7 separate regions of the Homo sapiens genome follow, and regions 1, 2, 3, 5, 6 and 7 are each linked to region 4. The links are contacts of gene promoters, found by promoter capture Hi-C in blood cells and fetal thymus (Javierre and others, 2016). All regions are on one chromosome and are shown on one strand. Each heading gives the region's core, a stretch centred on a gene start or on the middle of the fragment in contact. The rest is flanking DNA. Distances are from core to core; before and after follow the strand shown. Region 1 has its middle 11 kb from the start of SMAP1. Region 2 overlaps KCNQ5-DT (KCNQ5 divergent transcript). Region 3 overlaps FAM135A (family with sequence similarity 135 member A). Region 4 holds the start of PHF3 (PHD finger protein 3). Region 5 holds the start of BAG2 (BAG cochaperone 2). Region 6 holds the start of LINC01610 (long intergenic non-protein coding RNA 1610). Region 7 overlaps SMAP1 (small ArfGAP 1).

Region 1 (2,700 bases), core at 101-2,600, 7.0 Mb after region 4:
ATAAATCTGATCATGTCAGTCAGAGTTCATAATACTCCAATAACTTCCTATTACTCTTGGTATAAAGGTAATTCCCTAATTGCAATTTATCTTATTTAACAAAGCTGTGTTAATTCAAGTTCTCCAAGAAGCAGATGCTAAGATGGGATTAGACCTGAAAGATGTTTATTAGGGGGGATGTCTATAAAAATAAACAGGAGAAAGAGAATGCAGAAGAACTTTCAGACTGTGAGGCAGGTCTAACACCTGTGGAAGAGACGGGGCAGGAAGGAGGATTTGGGTAGGAAGAGGCTCAGATTGGGTAGGAAGAGGCAGCAAAGTTCTGAGAAAGTTTTGGCCAGGTCAGCAGGGGTCTTTGAGGCAACATTGCCTGTTAAAGGAGTCTCTTGTCTTATATCAGTTGCCTTCCCTCACCCTCCCTACCAGTGCATGCTCGTTATTGGCTGGGAGCAGCCCAGGGGAAGCATGGCCTTGGTGCGAACACAGTGGCGGATTCAGGAGAGCAGTGGCTCAGACTGTCAGTTGCCTGTGCTCCCCTGTGGCAGAAGAGCTGAGTGGTGGGCTTTTATGACCACTGAAAAGCCCTGTATGGTTTGATCTCTGCTTACCTCCCCAGCCTGGCCTTGTACCATGCAGCCCTTTGTGGTCTCAGTATCAATACAAGTCTTTTGTTACTTCCTTGAACATAAATATTATGTGTTTCCAACCCCTCTCCCCAATACAGAAACTAATTTTGTAATTTTAATAGAGAAAGGGTTTCTCCACGTTGGTCAGGCTGGTCTCGAACTCCCGACCTCAGGTGATCTGCCTGCCTCGGCCTCCCAAAGTGTTGGGATTACAGGCGTGAGCCACTGCGCCTGGCCTAGTTTGTCTTTTTAATTGATAAGTAATATTTTATTGCATAAATATATCATTATTTGTTTATCCATTCTCTTGTTTATGAACATTTAAGTTGTTTACAGGTTTTGACTACTGTGACTAAAGCTATTATCAACATTCTTATATAAGTCTTTTTATGAATATATTTTTTTCATTTCTCAGAGTGGAATTTCTGGGTCACAGGAGAAGTATATGTTTAACTTTAACTGACAAACTGGTTATAAAATTTTATGCTCCCAACAGCAATGAGAATACTAGTTGCCTCACTACCTACTTACCATTTGATATTATCATTCATTTTATTTTAGTCATTCTAGTAGGTATAAAGTGGCATTTCATTAGTTTTTATTGTACAATTCCCTAATTACTAATGATGTCTCAGGAGCTTACTGGTTCTTCATGTATCTTTTTGAGATATCTCTTTAAGTCTTTTGCCATTTTAATGGGTTGCCTTTTTATTATTGACTTGCAGGTGCTCCTTATATATTCTCTAAATAAGTCCTTTGTATTTATCACATATTACAAATATTTTCTCCAAATCTATAGCCTGACTTTTGCCTTTTTCTCAATGGTGTCTTTTGAAGAGCAGAAATTTTAAATTTTAATAAAGTCTGATTTCAATTTTTTTTCTTTTATGGTCAGTGCATCTTGTGTCCTAAAAAAATCTCTGCCTATTCTAAGGTGGAAATGAATAAATAACATTTTTAAACAATTTAAAATAAACCTATGCCTATTTCCTTTCCGTCTTGCTCCTAAAATTATGCTACTTTTAGTTTGGAATCACTGAGATGATATACACTATTTTGGTAAGAAGGTCAAGAATGAAAAATGGTGGAAAATTTCATGTGTAAAATGTTTCATTCCAGCAAAGTTACCAAATTGCAAAGGCCTAGAAGAAAGGCCTAGAAATGAGTTCCTTTAAAGACCAGAAAAAGAAGCTAACTTTTTAAAGAGCATGCTGTCTTAGTCCATTTGAGCATCTATAACAAACTATCTTAGACTTGGTGGCATACAAAGAGCAAAAATTTATTGCTCACAGTTCTAGAGGCTGGGAAGACCAAGACCAAAGCACCTGCAGATTTGGTATCTAGTGAGGAGCTATTCCCTGGTTCATAGATGAGGCCTTCTTATTGCTTGCTCAGTTGGTGGAAGGGCTCAACAAGCTCCCTTGGGCCTCTTTTATTTTTATATTTTTTATTATTTTTTTGAGACAGAATCTCACTCTTGTTGCCTAAGCTGGAGTGCAATGGTGTGATCTCAGCTCACTGCAACCTCCACTTCCTGGGTTCAAGCGATTCTCCTGCCTCAGCCTCCCAAGTAGCTGGGATTACAGGCGCTCACCACCATGCCCAGCTAATTTTCGTATTTTTAGTAGAGACAGGGTTTCACCATTTTGGCCAGGCTGGTCTCGAACTCCTGACCTCAGGTGATCCACCCACCTGAGCCTCCCAAAGTGCTGGGATTATAGGAGTGAGTCACTGAGCCCGGCCTTGGGCCTCTTTTAGAAGGGCACTAATACCATTAATTAGGACTCTGTCCAGATGACTTAATCACCTTCAAAGGCTCCACATCTATCAGATTGGGGGTTATGTTCCAACATGAAAATCTAGGGGGACACAAACATTCAGACCATAGCACATTCCCCTCTACTTTCATCAAATGGTGCATGGCTCACTATCAATAATGTTGGTGCTCTACATAAATCTGTTCTATGACTTTTAAAATTTAACAAGCAAAAGAGGAATGCATTGGAAGACTTATGGGTGGTAGTCAAAGAATCTGAAGGAAAGCTAAAAAGTTAAGTCTTCAGAAAAAACAGGA
Region 2 (2,700 bases), core at 48-2,547, 9.0 Mb after region 4:
TAGTAGAGACGGGGTTTCACTGTGTTGGCCAGGATGGTCTTGAACTCCTGATCTCAAGTGATCCACCCACTTTGGCCTCCCAAAGTGCTGGGATTACAGGCATGAGCTACCACATCCGGCCTGAAATAATTACTGTAAACCACAGTGCCTAACACATACAAAACACATGATAAGTATTTGCTATTATTTTGCTTCAACAATTGTGATCAGCACAATATTTCAGTAATTCCTAGAAACAGTAATTTTGTTAGCTGCTGGAATAAAAATGGTGAGAACTTGTTGAGCCCTTTCCGCACTATTTCTCTACCAGCCTCTCCTTACAGCCACACTCATTCACACCCACCTCCTTTCTGCATCCCTGGGGCAGAGGTTGTTCTGAAGAACACTGTCCCATTTGCCATGTGAGGTAGGCCTGGGACTCCTACTGTGTTATGACTCTCATGCAGTCTGGTGAGGCTCATATGATCTCTGACGTTGTCCTGGGTTCTCTGATTAATTTCTGCTTGTTGAAGAAAGAGCGTGAGAAGTTTGTATCATAACTCTTAGAGATAAGAATTGTTGATGACTGATCAAAACAAATGGTATATTATGCTGATACATTTAAAATAATAGCAGGAGATAAATATGTTTACTGAACCAATGGTTATGATATCTATGAAATGCAATATAGCTGTTATGCTTATTGGTTTGGTTATGGCCTGATTGGAAGGAAATAAAAGCTAAGGAGAAGGGTGGTAGCTTAAAGGGACTCCTATTCAGGAGTCTGGAGACTTCAGTTCTACCCCTAAGCTTACAAGGCAAATTGCTGAGCCCTGTGCACATCATTAAACAGCAGCCAATCATGAATTTCCATTTCTCCATTAGTGCATTTTCTTTTTGTTGATTATTTTCTACTTTTTAAGTTTTATATTTGCCCCTTCATTATTTTCCCAAGCAGACTCATGTCACATGCATTTCCTTTTTATTATAGGGTTTAAGAATTCTATTTATCATTCCCTGTCTGATTAGCCCAGGAATTTCACAATGGATCAATATGCACCCATATCACTAAAGAGTGGCTACTAAAGAGCGTATCTTGTAGTAGGAGATAGGCGCAAATGAGAAAATGGGTAGGCATGAAGAAGAAGGAAAGTGGGAGAGTGAGTCATTGATGCTTTGTGAAACTCGTCCAGATCCAGTTATTCTGCCCCTCTTATGAGCATTGAAAGTCTTTTTTTTGTGCATCTCTAGCTCATGTATAGAATTTCAAATATTATTATTTCAGAGTACCTTTCAGAAGAATAATACAATGGGATAGAAAACACACTGAGGCCAGGAGCAGTGGCTCACGCCTGTAATCCCAGCACTTTGAGAGGCTGAGGTGGAAGAATTGCTTGAGTTCAGGAGTTGGAGACCAGCCTGGGCAAAACAGCAAGACCCCATCTCCAAAAAAGAAAAAGAAACACACTAAAATAAAATATCTCTAGAAACTATGTTCAGTTGAAACCATATCCATGTAGACTTCAGAAAATGTTTCCAAGGTCATAAATTTCAGGCAAGCATCTTAAGAGAATGAATGAGTAAAAGCAAACACATCTCAAAAGATGGGGAGGGCCAATCAACTCACATACTTTACACTAGCAGTTAACATTTGCCTTTACCTCTTCATAATGCTCTAATGTAATTATAATGCATAGAATATACACTGTTTTACTCACTGCTCAGTATGCCTATCCTCTTTTCTAAATTTGAATTTTAATATTTCAGCAAAACGAACTAATAAAAGGCAGTTTCCTAGCAACGTCTGTATTCAAAGGAACAACAACAAAGCTTAATCGCAAACACCTTATTTTCTCCAAAGTTAATTCCCGTCTTTTGAGGGAAGTTAGCAGGTAGCAAATAAAGCAAGGTGCAAACAGAGGCTCTTGTAGGAGAGGTTGGCACAGACTCACTTGGCTTTTTCTTTCTGGGCATTGAAAGGTAGGAAGGTTAGAACTTCAGCTAAGCCAGTCTTTCCCAATGGTTGCAGTCAGAGATTGATACAAAACCCCAGAACTGTTTGCTATTTTATCCATTCTCTGCTGGAGATGCAGATTGATTGGTGGAAGGAACAGTGAACTAGGAAGCCAGGTTGTTGGATTCCTAGTAACTCTCACACTACCCGCGAAAACTTGAGCAGGCCCTCTTTTTCTGGGCTGTGTATCCAAATGGCGGTTACTCTAGAAGACATAAGTGAAAGGTCCTTCTCAGCAGCTCAAAACGGCTACCAGTAACCGGGTCTTTTTTATTTTTTAATTAAGCTTAAATGGCATTTGCTTAATCAATAATACAGTTTCACTAGAACTAATGCTGCATCCCCAGAAAAGCATCACTTAGAAATTAAACAGCTGGCTGTCTTCCAGGGAAACGTGTCCCTGTGTCCTGCCTTCCTGAGACTTCTTGCCTGCACGCGGGGCCCAGCCGCGCCAGAGAGATGGAAGTGACTTTACCTACCCAGCGAAAGTAGCAGTCTGCAACAAGGAAAACAGCTAAGTTAAGAGGAAGTGGTTTTCATTTTACTGCTTGCAGAAAGGCCAAGATTTTGACGTTTAAAGCGGGCACACGAGTCATTTTAAGTCTCTAGATCTTTCACCCTGAAAGTCCCTGCACAGAAACTCCATAGGGAGTCTAAATATAGCAACAGCACCCCCTCCCGCCCCCTCCGCCTTCAGTCAGGGTCCC
Region 3 (2,700 bases), core at 177-2,676, 6.8 Mb after region 4:
CCCAGTGAGTCTCTAATCTTAATTTTTTCCCCTCCAAAACTCTTCCACCCTCCCCCCCCCATTTGTATAAGTCAAGCCTCTTAACTTCATTCCATTTGTTTTACTTTTTATTAAATCTCTGAAGACTTCTTTGTGACATACCCTTCTAGTCCTTGCTGCTTTCTGCCTAAGCTAGGTATCCACTCAATGTTTCTAGTTCATCTTCCAGTTTAATAACATTTCTTCTTTCTTTACCGGTTGGTGGAAGTATCATCAAAAGAGTGACAGTAGCAACAAATCGGTTACACTTACTGATTAAAGCTTTAATTTTTAAGAATTATGTTTACCTGGCATGCCTGGGAAAGCAACTTGAGTACAGACTAAATGAAACTATAATGGGTTAAGACTTGTTAAAGGTTGACCTACAAACATACACTTAAAATTTGGAAATTTTCTTGTCCTCCATTAGGTGTAGCTGTCCAAGAACTAATCTTAAATGAAATTTAACAGAATTTCTTTTTTAAAATGTATTATTAATTTGTTTTATACATTTGCTATTGCAATTGATTGCATAATTTTCCTGAGAGTCTCTGTTCTCTAATAAATGCATACAATTTCTGCTACCTTTAGAATTAGTGTGCTTATAGGAGACATACGTGAGAAGTATTAAATTTTTTAATTGAGCAGAAGAACTTTCTAAACGGTTTTGTAATTTTTTTCCTCCATTGCATTGTGATCAAGATTTGGCTTAAATAAAACTTCTCTTTCCATAAATAATGGTATAGTATCTTATTTTGAAGGCATCTGCTGAAGCAATTATGTTTAGTGAAGTTTGTCTTTATTGTAGGGTTGAAGATCAACTGGATTATGTATTTGGTTCTGGAATCTCAAAGCAGTCCACAAACAAATTCTTCCTTATGTTGTCTGTGTCAGGTAGGAATTAAGTTTTCTGTTTCTGTTTTAAGAAGGGAAATACCAAGGCAAAAAAAAAAGTGTAGTTCCTTATTCAAAGTGATTTAAAGTAAAACTAGGAGGCTCTGGTGTCATCAAACCACACTTCTTTGAGAAGAACTAGCAATTGTGTATGGTAAGAGGTGATGCACTCATCAGCTTTTAAGATTTTTTAAAAATGATTTTTCAAATGCAAATAAAGAAACTGCTGCTTCTCAAGGAAGCTTGCACTTCCTTCAAATAAAAAGCCAGGTCTTTTTATTTTTAGGTAAACATTCATTTTAAAAAAGTAAATGCCTACAAATTCTTGCTGGTATTTTTAGTGAGTTGGTTCCTGTGCTCTTATAAATTAAATAGGGATTTGTGGTGGACAGCAGGCAGAAGACTAGAATTTCTAGTCAGAATATATGAACTCTTATGATGACTCATGACATTAGTTTGTAGAACCCACTTAACCTGTGTATCTCAGTATCTCCAGCTGTAAAGTAATTAATAGCAAAGCAAGCCCTAATCATTTAAACATGCTTAGGGCCACCGCAGACAAAAATTGCTATATAAATACTTAGTTTTTATCTCTTTAATTTTAGACTGTGTAGTAAGAGTATAATTGACTGCTTAAATCCCAAATCAAACATTTCTTTTTTAAATTTCAGACTTCTGTGAAAAGTCTAGTAGAATGCTGGTGAACTGTGGACTAGCACTCTATTAGACTTTTCTAATGTACTAGATAGATGTACCAAATAAAATGACCTGGCTTTGAAAGAAGTGCAAGCTTCCTTGAGAAGCAGCAGTTCTAATGTACTAGAGTTTTCTAATTAGTACATTAACTAATGTTCACACATTAGTTAATGTTCATACACAGTGAAACAGACACTGCAGCATTCAGTTTGTAAAACAGATATTCCTTTTGTTTGCCACGAGTTGACACTGAAAGGAAATGTAAGAGTTACACCTATATCTTTAGTTAATCCTTAATTTTCTGTTTTATATTTTTATTTTGTTTACATTAAATAAAATCTTTATTTTGTTTACATTAAATCCTTGTTGTGAGGGCTGTTTAGGGGGTAGAAAAGCCAAGGATTTCCTTTGCTTTGATTCTAGGTATTGAGGAAAAAGTGCTTTAACATTGAGTTTTTTATATGTACATGTGTGCATTTAAATAAATGGATGGAGCTGAGGGCATATAGATTTGAAGTGTTTTTTCATGAGTTGTTTGTCAGGAAGAAGGTTTAGAGATGACTAGGAATAAGGTGGGGTGTGGTGGCTCATGCCTGTAATTCTAGCACTTGGGGAGGCTGAGGCAGGAGGATCTCTTGAGGCCAGGAGTTCAAGACCAGCCTGGGCAACAGAGCGAAACCCTCTCCTAATTAAAAGAAAGAAAGAGGAATAAGAAGCAGAATGGTAATATAGAAGAAATCATTCTTAATGGACTCAGTGGTTTTTCAGAAAAGTTACAAAGCATAAGTGATTAGGCAGGTCTAGGTTTTTCAGAAGGAATAAGGTGAAACAACTCCACAGTAGGTTCACATTTTATTTTTAAAGATTGGCAGTTGTTAACAGGTACATACTTGGTTATTGATAATGTGCTAAATTTAGAAGAAATATTAGCTTCTTTTTTCCTAATAGAAATGTAAAAGTATCAGGCATATTATACCATTAAGAGACATCTCCTACTTGAGTAACTAACCCTTCAGGTAGTTCTTATTTTGATGAAAAAAATTTGATAAACTATCTCTCAACCGAGAAACCATTCTGAGAAAATTATAGCAT
Region 4 (2,700 bases), core at 195-2,694:
GGGGTTGGATTTTGTTTATAACAATAATTTTACTTTTTCTGAACGCCCTTTTAAAACGTCACACTGAGATCCACCAGAAGAGTAAGAATAACATTAGGCTTGTTTTTATAATTCATCCCAGACATCCCAAGTGAGAATTAAAAAAAAAAATTACTCATTTCTATTTTCCTTTCTCAAAAACACATTACAAAAAGATTGTAAAACAAAGTCTTGAGGGATTGATTAGTCAAGACAGGGGGTGAAACTCTTAAGAATCCAGTGGAATCAGGACAACCCAAACTTCCTTTGTAGAAGAGCATTTGCTATTAAGAGTGCTTAAAATATCAGAAGACTAGAGAGAGGAAAGAACAGATCTTCACCACATGCCTGTGACTTATTCTTCCACCCTGCACTAATCTTACAATGTGGGCTGCGGTTGGTCTAAAGCTTAAATCAACAAGTACTGTAAAGGTTTTAGAACAGTGCAGACCACACAGTAAGGTGCTCAGCAGGTACTGGCTGAATACTGTAATAGTCCCTGTAGATAAAAGCCACAAACCCTGTCCCTAAGTAGCTCCTTTTGGTTGGAGTGACTGACAAGCAACAATTACTTCACAGCGCTTATTAAGGGCTGAGATAGGGGTTAGCTCAAGTGTCTGTGGAAGCAGACCAGTGGGTCTCAAACTTTTTTTGTCTCTGGACCTCTACACAATATTTGTTACCACAAATAATGTATTTATGAAAAGCATATTTTCCAAATTAATAAAAGGGTGATATCTAAAATTTCTGCAGATTTCCTCAATGTCTGGCTTAATAGAAGATGGCTGGATTCTCTTATCTGTTTCTGCATTGAATCAGCTGCTATATGCTGTTTTGGTTGAAGGGTGGGAAGAAAATTTGGCCTTAGACACATGCTCCTGGCAAAGGAATGGAGGCTCTACTGAAAGGTCTTGGCGACCCCTCAGGGAAACCTGGGACCACATTCTGAAGACTGCTTACTGGATACCAAGAATGTTTCTTGGAGGTAGCAATTTGAGTCCTGAGGTAGATCAGCCATGTAGGGTGAGGGTAACGGAGGTAGTTAATGGTAAGGCTGCTGTGCCGAGCCAGCACAGATATTTGGGCAGAGGGCTCATCTACTCCATCCTATTCTACCATTCTTGAACTCACAGTCAATTAATAAAAAGTACCTGGGGTTGGGGAGCTGCGCATCAATATTATATTAACTGTGAAGCCTTAGTGCTTACTACGGTCGAGAAAAAGCGCTCCTCTGATTCGCCCCTCCCGGCGGCGCGGAGGTGTGAGCTAGAAGCCCGCAGGCGGTGCCGCGTCCTCCGAAGACAGGGAGGGGCGCGGCAACGCCGGGAAGCGCTGCAGCCCGGGGCCCCACGGAGGCGCGGCGCTCGAGGCCCTAAAGCGCGCAGGCGCGGCAGCGACGCAGGCCGCGGCCCCCGGAACGGTAAACAGTGGGGTCACGTGACACGGCCCCTCTCCAGCTCCCGCGCCGCCGCCGCACGCCGATGGCTGCGGGGTCTCGCGCCGTCGCACCGTCCCCACGCGGCAAGCGACCTTCGGGCTCAGGGCGGCGGCGGCTGCAACGAGGATTAGGAGGGCGGCGCGGAAGCCAAGAATAGTGTCGTCAGCAGCAGCCATTTGGTCCCAGGAGGAAAAGAGGCTGTGGCAGCGACGCCGACGTCCTGCGCGTACCCCCTCTCCGCGGCACCCACCGGGCCCCCTCCTCCTCCTCTTCGGCGGCGGCAGCGTCCACCATCTTCCTCTTGCTGCCAGTGGTAGCGCTCGTCTGGCGGAGCTGGGTGAGTTGCGGCTGTGGCCGCGGCCAGGGAGACGGGCAATCCTCCCCTCCCCCATCCCCTTCCACACGCACAGCGCCTCCGCGGGCCTCTCCGCCCCTCCCGCGGCGGACTCTCCGCGCTTTTCTCCCGCGCAGCCGAGAGATCGCCTCTCGGGCCTCTTGCGCAACGTCCTCGGCCTACCTGGGCCGCGCCGCTGGCGCCTGTGGACCATTTGGACCGCGGGCTGGGGAGGGAGTCGCAGCGACGCGGTCGCCAGGCGGAGGGTCGGGACCACGGCCTCTCTCCCGACCACTGGTACCCAGCCGTCTGCTGCGAGGGCGCCCCGCCGCCGCTGAGGCGCGGGCGCGCAGGCCCGAGGCACGGCGGGCGCTGCCTGGAAGGCCCGTCTCGCAGGCCCCCGGATCCGGCCGTTGGGGCCTCTTCCTTCTCAGGGAGCCCCAGCATGGAGCTTTGGGCCTTGGTTTCGGGAAACTGGGACTGGCCCTGGCTGCTAGGCTGCTCCCTGCTGCTGCTTTTTGGAGATGAGAGTTGCTCTTCCATTTATCCTCCAGTTACCGCGCGCTTTTGTGCCCGGGACTCAAACTGTGGACTCCTTTTGCTTAGTTTGAAATGAGAAGCCTAGACTCTTGCCTTCCGATAATACATGTAATTTAATGAACCACTTGTCGATACGTACGTGTTAATGGTGCTAAATAACTGATCACCTGACACGGGGGGCGGGGGCGGTGCGGAGAGTAGAAAGGAAGAGAATGTTGATATCGCGCACGGAGTCCTGTGTCCCTCCTTTCCCTCAGGATGTGTTGCCGGGTTAGGTGACCTTTTTCCATCTTTGGGCTTTTAAATGCCAATTCCTAGAGACTAGATTGGGGTGGTTATTAGTGCTTTCCAGTAGTCACGCGTAGAATAT
Region 5 (2,700 bases), core at 23-2,522, 6.5 Mb before region 4:
TATATTCTGAAGGCAAAATTGATGGGGTTTACTAATGGTGTGGATCTAGGATAAGAGAGAAAAAGAGTTCAGGATGATTCTAAAGTCACTTGATAGACTTTCAAACCACTCACAAAATGTGTTTTGTTTTCGTTTGTGTCATGATAAAGTTATTTTTAATAAGGTCAAATAATCCCCTACCCCAAGAGTTAATTAGGATTTAAAATGAGTTCAGAGGGAATTGGGATCCAGCCTTAAGGGCTTCAACTCTGTTCAAGTATTTAAATGGCTTTGATCTCTGATTAAAGGTGGTGGCTCAGCTTTAAACTATTATTATCTATCATTTTCTGTGCCCTGTACATTGTCATCCTTGCAATGAGAGGCATAGAGCTATCAGGAGAGGGGACTAAAGCCTAACTTTTTAAGTAGACTAATCTTTGTATCCTCAGCTCTATTCCGTCTTTTACCGACAGCTGGTGCCTGACCTAGAGGCCTACTGCATCTTTTTTGTTAACAGGATTTTTAAAAGTTGAGGACTTTTTAATGCCAATTATTTCACTCAGAATATTTATTTATTTATTTATTTTTTTGAGACAAGGTCTCGCTCTATCGCCCAGGCTGGAGTGCAGTGGCGAGATCTCGGCTCGCTCAACAGGAATAATTTTAATAGCAAAAATTTAAAACCCCTTCATTAAGCCAGGCGTGGTGGTTCACATCTGTAATCCCAGCACTTTGGGAGGCTGAGGTGGGAGGACCGCTTGAACCCGGGAGGTCGAGGCTGCAGTAAGTCGTGATCGCGCCACTACACTCCAACGTGGGCGACAGTTAGACCCCATCTCAAAAACAAAAGAAAATTAGAATGGTAAAAATGAAGTAAATTCACTTTGCTTCCCACATCTAGCTAGACAGGGAAAGATGGAGTAGCTTTTTCTTTTTTACTTCATAGCTTCAGTGTTGTCCGGGCTTTCATTACTCTCATCTCAGTATAAAGTGGTAACAGGAAGGTCAGGTGAGTGTGGGCTGCCTACGAGCTGTACTTACTGCCTTCTGTTTCACAAAAGGACGTTTTCTCCCCATAATGTCGTTGTTCTTGCTTTGAATTATGGGTGCTGGGAGAAACTAAACGAAGCCGTCACTGAGCAATACACCCACAGCCCGTCGACCGATAGGAACCTTCGCGTGGGGGGAGTTGGTTACTTTTAGGTTGCATGAAGAGGCGGGGCCTCGCGGGGCGGAGCTGGGGGTGGTCTGTGGGTCCGCGCGGGCTTCGGGTAGTTCCTGGGTCCGGGGAGCAGACGATCCGCTAGCCACATTAGGCGCTCGGTCTCTGCGTCCGCCCCTCCCGTGCCTCAGAGACTTGCGCTCCCCAGGCCCGAGCCCCTGTCGGCCCATCCTCGAGCCCGTGTGGCTCGCGAACCTCTAACTCCAGCCGCTGCAGCCCCCTCCCAGGCCCGGCGTCCCCGAGCCCCGCGGGCGCCGCGCCTGCCCTTCTTTGGCTACGCTGCAGCCGCGGTGTCGGCGAGTCCTCCCGGGTTGCCCCCGCGGGCGTCAGAGGGAGGGCGGGCGCCCGCGTGGTGACGGCGACGCCTGCAGCCCAAGGAGCGCTCCACTCGCTGCCGCCGGAGGGGCCGGTGACCTCTTGGCTACCCCGCGTCGGAGGCTTAGATGGCTCAGGCGAAGATCAACGCTAAAGCCAACGAGGGGCGCTTCTGCCGCTCCTCCTCCATGGCTGACCGCTCCAGCCGCCTGCTGGAGAGCCTGGACCAGCTGGAGCTCAGGTGAGCTCCGGGCGGGCGGTCTCGGGCGTTCTGCTCGCCGCGCGGGCGGTTCGCGGGCGGTTAGCGGACGGAGGCCGCGTGTGGCGGGCCGGGGCCTGGGGCACAGTGAGGCTGCGGCAACCGAAGTTGCTTGTTGAGATTTGTTGTGGATGGACGTGGTGTAGTTTTGTTTGTTTCTTGGATTATCTCCCCTAGTCCGAGAGAAAACGCATTCGATTTAAGCTAAACCTGTGAGGGCGTTATCGGTGGCCACACTTTGATTAATTTACCTAGGTGTTAGGGAGCGGAAAAAAATCAGAGGAGATAAAAGTTACAGTGAGATTCCATGCGATTAAGGACTGTGGCAGCTTGGGTCTGCAGAACTTCTAGAACCTTCTGTGTGGCCCCAAACGTTTTAACTTACTCTTCTCGTTATGCATTTTTTAAGGGAGGCAGCAGTTTACAGTGGCCCTCCACGTGAAGTTAAGTTTCCTTGCTTCAGAACAAAAATGAATAAAACAAAACCAACCCAGCAATCCATTGAGAGCAAAGATTAGACAGGAGTGAGGGGTAGGCAGTAAGTTACCGGGTGCTTCGTGCAGCAGAGACGTTGCCGCTTCTGTTTCTCCCCTAACCTCGCGGACGGGATTCAGCGGTTCCGTTCGTCTCTCGGTATTTATTGGGCACCTCCCTACATAGAAGACTAAGTGCTAGTTACTGGCCTGAAAGCATGAAAAGATAGTTTTCCCCTTTTCTTGCTTAAGAATTTATTTGGTAATACAGTAGTAGACTTGTATAGAATTTCTAAACAATTTAATGTTAATAGATTTTTGGAAAGACTTTAACGGTGTATTGAAAAGTTTTATCTACTTCCTGTGAACGTTTGTCTCAAGTTACTGTGTAAATTTTGTGAGCAGGTGTAGTTAAAAGAAAATCTTGTTAGGCACCTGCAATTCCGTGAAAC
Region 6 (2,700 bases), core at 22-2,521, 6.8 Mb after region 4:
CCTGAAAGAATAACAAGAGATCGATCAAAAGAGAGATGAAGCAAGAACAGGAGATAAACAGTGGGTGTGTGGAGCTCAGAGATGAATAGAAGCATAAGATGAAATTATTACAGAGGTGAAATTCTCATTAGAGTCAACAAATGGTAACACATATATATGGATAAAAATACAGTCTAGGACAAAAAGAAAGCCCTTGAGTAAATAACATAAAACGAATTGGAAAAGAACAGAGATAAAATAAGAAAGGAGGTGGTATGGACATTAAACAAATAATCACTTTCATGGAAGAAAATAATATATGGAATGGGAAAAATTCAAATATATAATTGAATATAATTTTCTTGAAACAAAATCTCAAATCTATAGATTACAAAGACATAGCTTAGCCAAATTCCTGAAAATGTTGATGAAGGCTAATTAGTAAGATAACTTAAAAATGGATTTAGAGCAGCAGGTTGTAAGAAGTTACACAGCAGAAAAGAAGCACATGAACCAACTCTACCAAAATGAGAAAGAATAGGAGGAAATGAACTGAAGAGGTATTTAAGATCCTGGCATTTAGTAAGCCGACCATGGTATGGTTGTTAAGAGGCCAGCGCTGTAAACTGCCTAGATTTGGATCCCATCCCTGCCGTTTATTACCTGTGTGACCAAAGCAAGTTATTTTGCCTCTTGGTGCCTCAATTTTCTTAATTTTAAAATGGAGGTGATATTAGCCACCCACATAACACAGTGACTGTGAAAATTGAGAAAATACATTTAGTCTTCTTTAAAAAATGCCTTTCATATTCAGCATTGTCAATTATTATTAAGTTCAACAGAGCTTGGTGATTCTCTGAAGGTGAGAGAGTAAGAGACAGGGAAGACACGAGTTGATTCCTAGGTTTCAGGATGTGACAATCATAATGCCATTCACTATAGAGAGAATACAGAACAAGGGTAATACAGAAGAAATGATTTTTTTTAATTCTCAATTGATATAGTCCCCACCCAAACCTCATCTTGAACTGTAGTTCCTGTAATTCCTATGTGTCGTGGGAAGGACCAGGTGGAGATAATTGAATCATGAGGATGATTTCCCCTATCCTACTCTCGTGATAGTGAATTAGTTCTCACGAGATCTAGTGGTTTCATAAGGGGCTCTCCACCAACGCTCTGCACTTCTCCTTGCTGCCACCATGTGAAGAAGGACATGTTTGCTTCCCCTTCTGCCATGATCGTAAGTTTCCTGAGGCCTCCCAGCTATGCTGAACTGTGAGTCAATTAAACCTCTTTCCATTATAAATTATCCAGTCTTGGGTATGTCTTTATTAGCGGTGTGAGAACAGACTAATACATCAATTATAATGGATTCATTTTGAACATGTTAAGATTGACTTATCTTTGAGAAGATAGGTAGAGAGGTCCTGTGGGCACCTAGAACTCACCTAGGGCTGAAGGCAGGTGTACATGGCTTTAATGTGTGTGCAGAAGCCATGAATGTGGATAAGATCTCCTTTGTGATGTACATAATGAAAGAAGAAAAAGGGCGAGAACTGAACCTGTGGAATATTCCCATTTATCAGCTGGCAGAAGACTAAGGCCTGTGACAAAGGATCAGTGGAAAAATAAAGAAGAAGGAGAGGATAAATGATGAATCAAAGGCACAAGGACAGGCTGGGCACAGTGGCTCATGCCTGTAATCTCAGCACTTTGGGAGCCCAAGGTGAGTGGATCACTTGAGCTCAGGAGTTCAAGACCAGCTTGGGCAAAATGGGAAGACCCCATGGTGGGAGGGATATATACATATATGTATATACATAAATAGTTGTGTGTATATATACACACACATATACAGTTGTATATACGTATATATATATATAGTTGTGTATATATACACACACACACATATATATATAACAAGTACATTGGAGAGGCTGTGTTCAGGAGCACAGATGAACAGGTTGGCCTTTGCCAAGGGAAGCACATATTTTCCACCGAGAAAGAGAACGATGAGGGTGTGCGTGGAAGCAGGTTAAGTGTGTAGACTGTAGTTGGTAAAGCTGAAAGAGCTCTTACTGAAAGATTCTCCCCGGGGCCTGAAAGTTTAAGGGAATGAATAACTCCGCCCTCCTCAGGCCCAGTCCCAAGGTGCAAGGCCACTTGTGCTAGCAGCATGCGTCAGCAAGATAGCAGAAGCAGGAAGAGAGCTGGCCGGAAGATATGTACCCTGTGAAGACCGAGAGAGAGGCCGTCCAGGTACCACGTAGCAGTTACATCAGACTGAGACACTTCCTGTTTACAGGAGACTATAAAACCCCTGCCCCATCCTCATTTGGTGCTGATGCCATTTTCAGCCTCAGCACGCCTGCACCCAGGCGCTCATTAAAACAGCATGTTGCTCCCCACTGCCTCGTGTTGTCTGTTGGCGCGCTGTCGGGGTTCGAACCGATACAAGAACCTTCCACCTACCTGGTGCTTTGGCCTCATCTATAAGGTAAAAGCAAAGCCATCTGTTGCTAAATATTGGAAACTCTGTGTAGCAGTGAAGATTAGAAGTAGTTAATGATTGGAGGATGACCCCTCTCAAAAAAAAAAAAAAGTTACATTGAGGGCCCCGCAGACATTGAATGAAAAATATGAACTCAAGTCAAAAAATTGTTTTCGCATTTTTTTCCAGCAGCTTTTCCACTGTCCTGAAACAAGATAGAGAATCTGAGG
Region 7 (2,700 bases), core at 157-2,656, 7.0 Mb after region 4:
CTTTGAAACTAGCAGTGTGTCATCCTTGATTCTGCTCCTCCTTGCCCTCCACTTCCATCATTACATCTTCTCTGGCATGTTTATGACCTTTTGGCTTTATCTGGGTAATACAGGACAATACTGCCATCTCAGTGTCCTTAAGTTATTCACAGAGATTCCAAGGATAGAACAGGACTTCTTTGGGGGCCATTATTCTGCCTAACAAAGTGGATTTGTGATAAAAATTATATATGGAATCTAGATTTTTTGTTTTTTTTTTTTTGTTTTTTTGAGATGGAGTCTTACTCTGTCGCCCAAGCTGGAGTGCATTGGCATGATCTCGGCTCACTGCATCCTCTGCCTCCCCGGTTCAAGCGATTCTCCTGTCTCAGCCTCTGGAGTAGCTTACAGGTGTGTGCCACCACACCCGCCTAATTTTTGTATTTTTGGTAGAGACGGAGTTTTGCTATGTTGGCCAGGCTGGTCTCAAACCCCTGACCTCGAGTGATTCGCCTGCCTTGGCCTCCCAAAGTGCTGGGATTACAGGCTTGAGCCACCGCGCCTGGCCAGAATCTAGATTTTTATAAGTGGTACAGAGTTGGGTGTATTTAAGATGGTATGGGATGATGAAGTACTACTTAAATTAGCCTTTCTCACAGGACCTATTTAAAAATACATGCATGCAAGAGTCATTTAACAATCTCTTTGCAATGGGATCATTTATGTAGGAAATCCCAAGAAATTTATAGAAAAGCTATTAGAATGAATAATTGAGTTTATTAAGTTTACAGAAATAAAGTGACTATAGAAAAAGTAACTCTATATACTAGCAACAAATAATTGGAAGTTGAAATAAAAATTATGATTTATAATAGCATAACAATATGAAAACTGTGGGATAAATTTAACAAAATACGTGCAAGACCTGTATACCAAAAACTACAGAAGATAGCTGAGAGAAATTAATGAATACTGTACCTAAAGAAGTGGAGAGAGGTATCAGAGATATCATGCTCATGGATTAGAAGACTCAATATTTTTAAGATGTCAGTTCTCTCCAAATTAGTCTCTAAATTCAACATTATTCCAGTCAGAATCCCAGAAGGCTTTTTTTGTTGCAACTGACAAGCTGATTCTAAAATTTTTAATGAAATGCAAGGGACCTTCCAAAATCAAAACATTGAAAAACAAAAAGAATGTTTGAGGTCTTACACAACCTGCCTTTAACAGTTATTAAAAAGCTATAGTTATCTGTGGAACATAATACGTAGTCCAGAAATAGACTCACATATTATGGTCAGTTTTTAACAGAAGTGCCAAGGTAACTCAATGGAGAGAAAGGATAGTCTTTTCAACAACAACAACAACAACAACAACAACAACAACAGAATGTATAATACCTTGAACCTTACCTCAGACCATTCACAAAAACTAATTTGAGATGGATCATAAAACTAAATTTAAGAGCTAAAACTATAAAACTGCTAGAAGAAAACATGGGGGAAAATCTCTGGGACCTTGAATTAAGCAGAGGATTCTTGGATAGGACACAAAATTATATTCCATAAAGTTAAAATTGAGAAAATGAACTTCATTAAAATTAAAAACTTTTGCTTTTCAAGAGACACTTAAAAATCATAGATGGCTGGGAAAAATATTTTATCTGGTAAGGACCTTTATTCAGAATATCTAAAGAAATAATGCAACTTAATAATAAGACAAAGTAAAACAAGCACTTGAATGTTCATAGCAGCATTATTCATAATAGCCAAACACTGGAAACAATTCAAATGTTTTATCAGTTGACGAATGGATAAAGAAAATAGTGCGTCCGTACAGTGGAATAATGTTTTACAGTACAAAGCAATGAACTAGTGGATGAGTCATAAAAACATTATATTTACAAAAGAATCCATACACAAAAGACAACAGAGTATACATTACAATTACATGGATTTCCTGTTTTTTTTTTTTTTTTTTTTTTTTGAGTTGGAGTCTCACTGTGTCTCCCAGGCTGGAGTGCAGTGGTATGATCTCGGCTCACTGCAGCCTCTGCCTCCCGGGTTCAAGTGATTTTCCTACCTCAGCCTCTCAAGTAGCTGGGATTACAGGCACGTGCCACCACACCCAGCTAATTTTTGTATTTTTAGCAGAGGCGGGGTTTTGCCATGTTGGCCAGGCTGGTCTCGAACTCCTGACTCAGGTGATCTGCCCGCCTTAGCCTCCCACAGTGCTGGGATTACGGTTGTGAGCCACTGCGCCTGGCCATAATTACACGGATTTCTATTAAATAAAAGGATAAAACTTATAGGGACAGAAAACAGGTCAGTGGTTGCTAAGGATCGGGATGAGGGAGTTTATTTAAAAAAAAAAAATACAATGCATAGGCTAGGAATGGTGGCTCACACCTCTAATCCCAGCACTTTGGGAGGCCAACGCAGGTGACTCACTTGAGCCCAGAAGTTCAAGGCCAGCCTTGGCAAAATGACGAAACTCTGTCTCTACAAAAAGTGAAAATAAAATTAAAAAAAAATAGCTGGGTGTGGTGGCACGTGCCTGTGGTGCCAGCTATTTGGGAGGCTAGGGTAGGAGGATCTCCTGAGGAGGTCAAGGCTGCAGTGAGCCGTGATTGTGCCACTGCACTCCAACCTGGGCAACAGAGTAAGACCCTGTCTCAAAAACAAAAACAAAAAACATGCAAATATGTTGTTTACTTCTTTC

The links. Contacts are between HindIII fragments. The CHiCAGO score rates a contact against its expected background, and 5 or more counts as called.
Region 1: a contact is called between a fragment that was not itself captured here and the fragment with the promoter of PHF3 in region 4, in 2 of 17 cell types (activated CD4 T cells and non-activated CD4 T cells). The highest score is 8.8, in activated CD4 T cells.
Region 2: a fragment that was not itself captured here is called in contact with the fragment with the promoter of PHF3 in region 4 in 1 of 17 cell types (non-activated CD4 T cells); the score reaches 5.7 in non-activated CD4 T cells.
Region 3: a fragment that was not itself captured here is called in contact with the fragment with the promoter of PHF3 in region 4 in 4 of 17 cell types (non-activated CD4 T cells, total CD4 T cells, naive CD8 T cells and 1 more); the score reaches 13.9 in non-activated CD4 T cells.
Region 5: the fragment with the promoter of BAG2 here is called in contact with the fragment with the promoter of PHF3 in region 4 in 4 of 17 cell types (non-activated CD4 T cells, naive CD8 T cells, total B cells and 1 more); the score reaches 27.4 in non-activated CD4 T cells.
Region 6: a fragment that was not itself captured here is called in contact with the fragment with the promoter of PHF3 in region 4 in 1 of 17 cell types (naive CD8 T cells); the score reaches 6.0 in naive CD8 T cells.
Region 7: a contact is called between a fragment that was not itself captured here and the fragment with the promoter of PHF3 in region 4, in 1 of 17 cell types (non-activated CD4 T cells). The highest score is 6.7, in non-activated CD4 T cells.

What each region holds. Positions count from the first base shown.
Region 1 is chr6:70,655,034-70,657,733 of GRCh38, forward strand. No RefSeq gene overlaps it. Among named protein-coding and RNA genes, the nearest start is that of SMAP1, 11 kb to the right of the region's middle. The HindIII fragment of the contact is 7,215 bases long and covers 1-2,700 here.
Region 2 is chr6:72,617,508-72,620,207 of GRCh38, forward strand. It overlaps KCNQ5-DT (KCNQ5 divergent transcript), which reads right to left. Exons shown (of 3, transcript NR_186827.1): 2 at 344-499. Among named protein-coding and RNA genes, the nearest start is that of KCNQ5, 3.2 kb to the right of the region's middle. The HindIII fragment of the contact is 1,020 bases long and covers 788-1,807 here.
Region 3 is chr6:70,414,465-70,417,164 of GRCh38, forward strand. FAM135A (family with sequence similarity 135 member A) reads left to right here. Exons shown (of 22, transcript NM_001162529.3): 2 at 827-912. Among named protein-coding and RNA genes, the nearest start is that of FAM135A-AS1, 1.9 kb to the left of the region's middle. The HindIII fragment of the contact is 548 bases long and covers 1,153-1,700 here.
Region 4 is chr6:63,634,358-63,637,057 of GRCh38, forward strand. PHF3 (PHD finger protein 3) reads left to right here and starts at 1,445. Exons shown (of 16, transcript NM_001370348.2): 1 at 1,445-1,793. RefSeq lists enhancers at 133-670, 1,202-2,022 and silencers at 1,240-1,599, 2,040-2,219. The HindIII fragment of the contact is 3,030 bases long and covers 425-2,700 here.
Region 5 is chr6:57,171,054-57,173,753 of GRCh38, forward strand. BAG2 (BAG cochaperone 2) reads left to right here and starts at 1,273. Exons shown (of 3, transcript NM_004282.4): 1 at 1,273-1,757. The coding sequence starts at 1,645. It overlaps ZNF451-AS1 (ZNF451 regulatory antisense RNA 1), which reads right to left and starts at 1,160. Exons shown (of 4, transcript NR_110742.1): 1 at 1,021-1,160; 2 at 1-45. RefSeq lists silencers at 1,286-1,365, 1,416-1,685 and an enhancer at 1,420-2,177. The HindIII fragment of the contact is 6,211 bases long and covers 1-2,700 here.
Region 6 is chr6:70,392,568-70,395,267 of GRCh38, forward strand. It overlaps LINC01610 (long intergenic non-protein coding RNA 1610), which reads left to right and starts at 1,635. Exons shown (of 4, transcript NR_125857.1): 1 at 1,635-1,705; 2 at 2,118-2,476; 3 at 2,660-2,699. LOC105377847 (a long non-coding RNA gene) reads right to left here. Exons shown (of 5, transcript XR_942668.1): 2 at 2,452-2,675. The HindIII fragment of the contact is 3,343 bases long and covers 1-2,700 here.
Region 7 is chr6:70,678,772-70,681,471 of GRCh38, forward strand. The region is part of intron 1 of SMAP1 (small ArfGAP 1); the gene reads left to right. Among named protein-coding and RNA genes, the nearest start is that of SMAP1, 12 kb to the left of the region's middle. The HindIII fragment of the contact is 4,869 bases long and covers 1-2,700 here.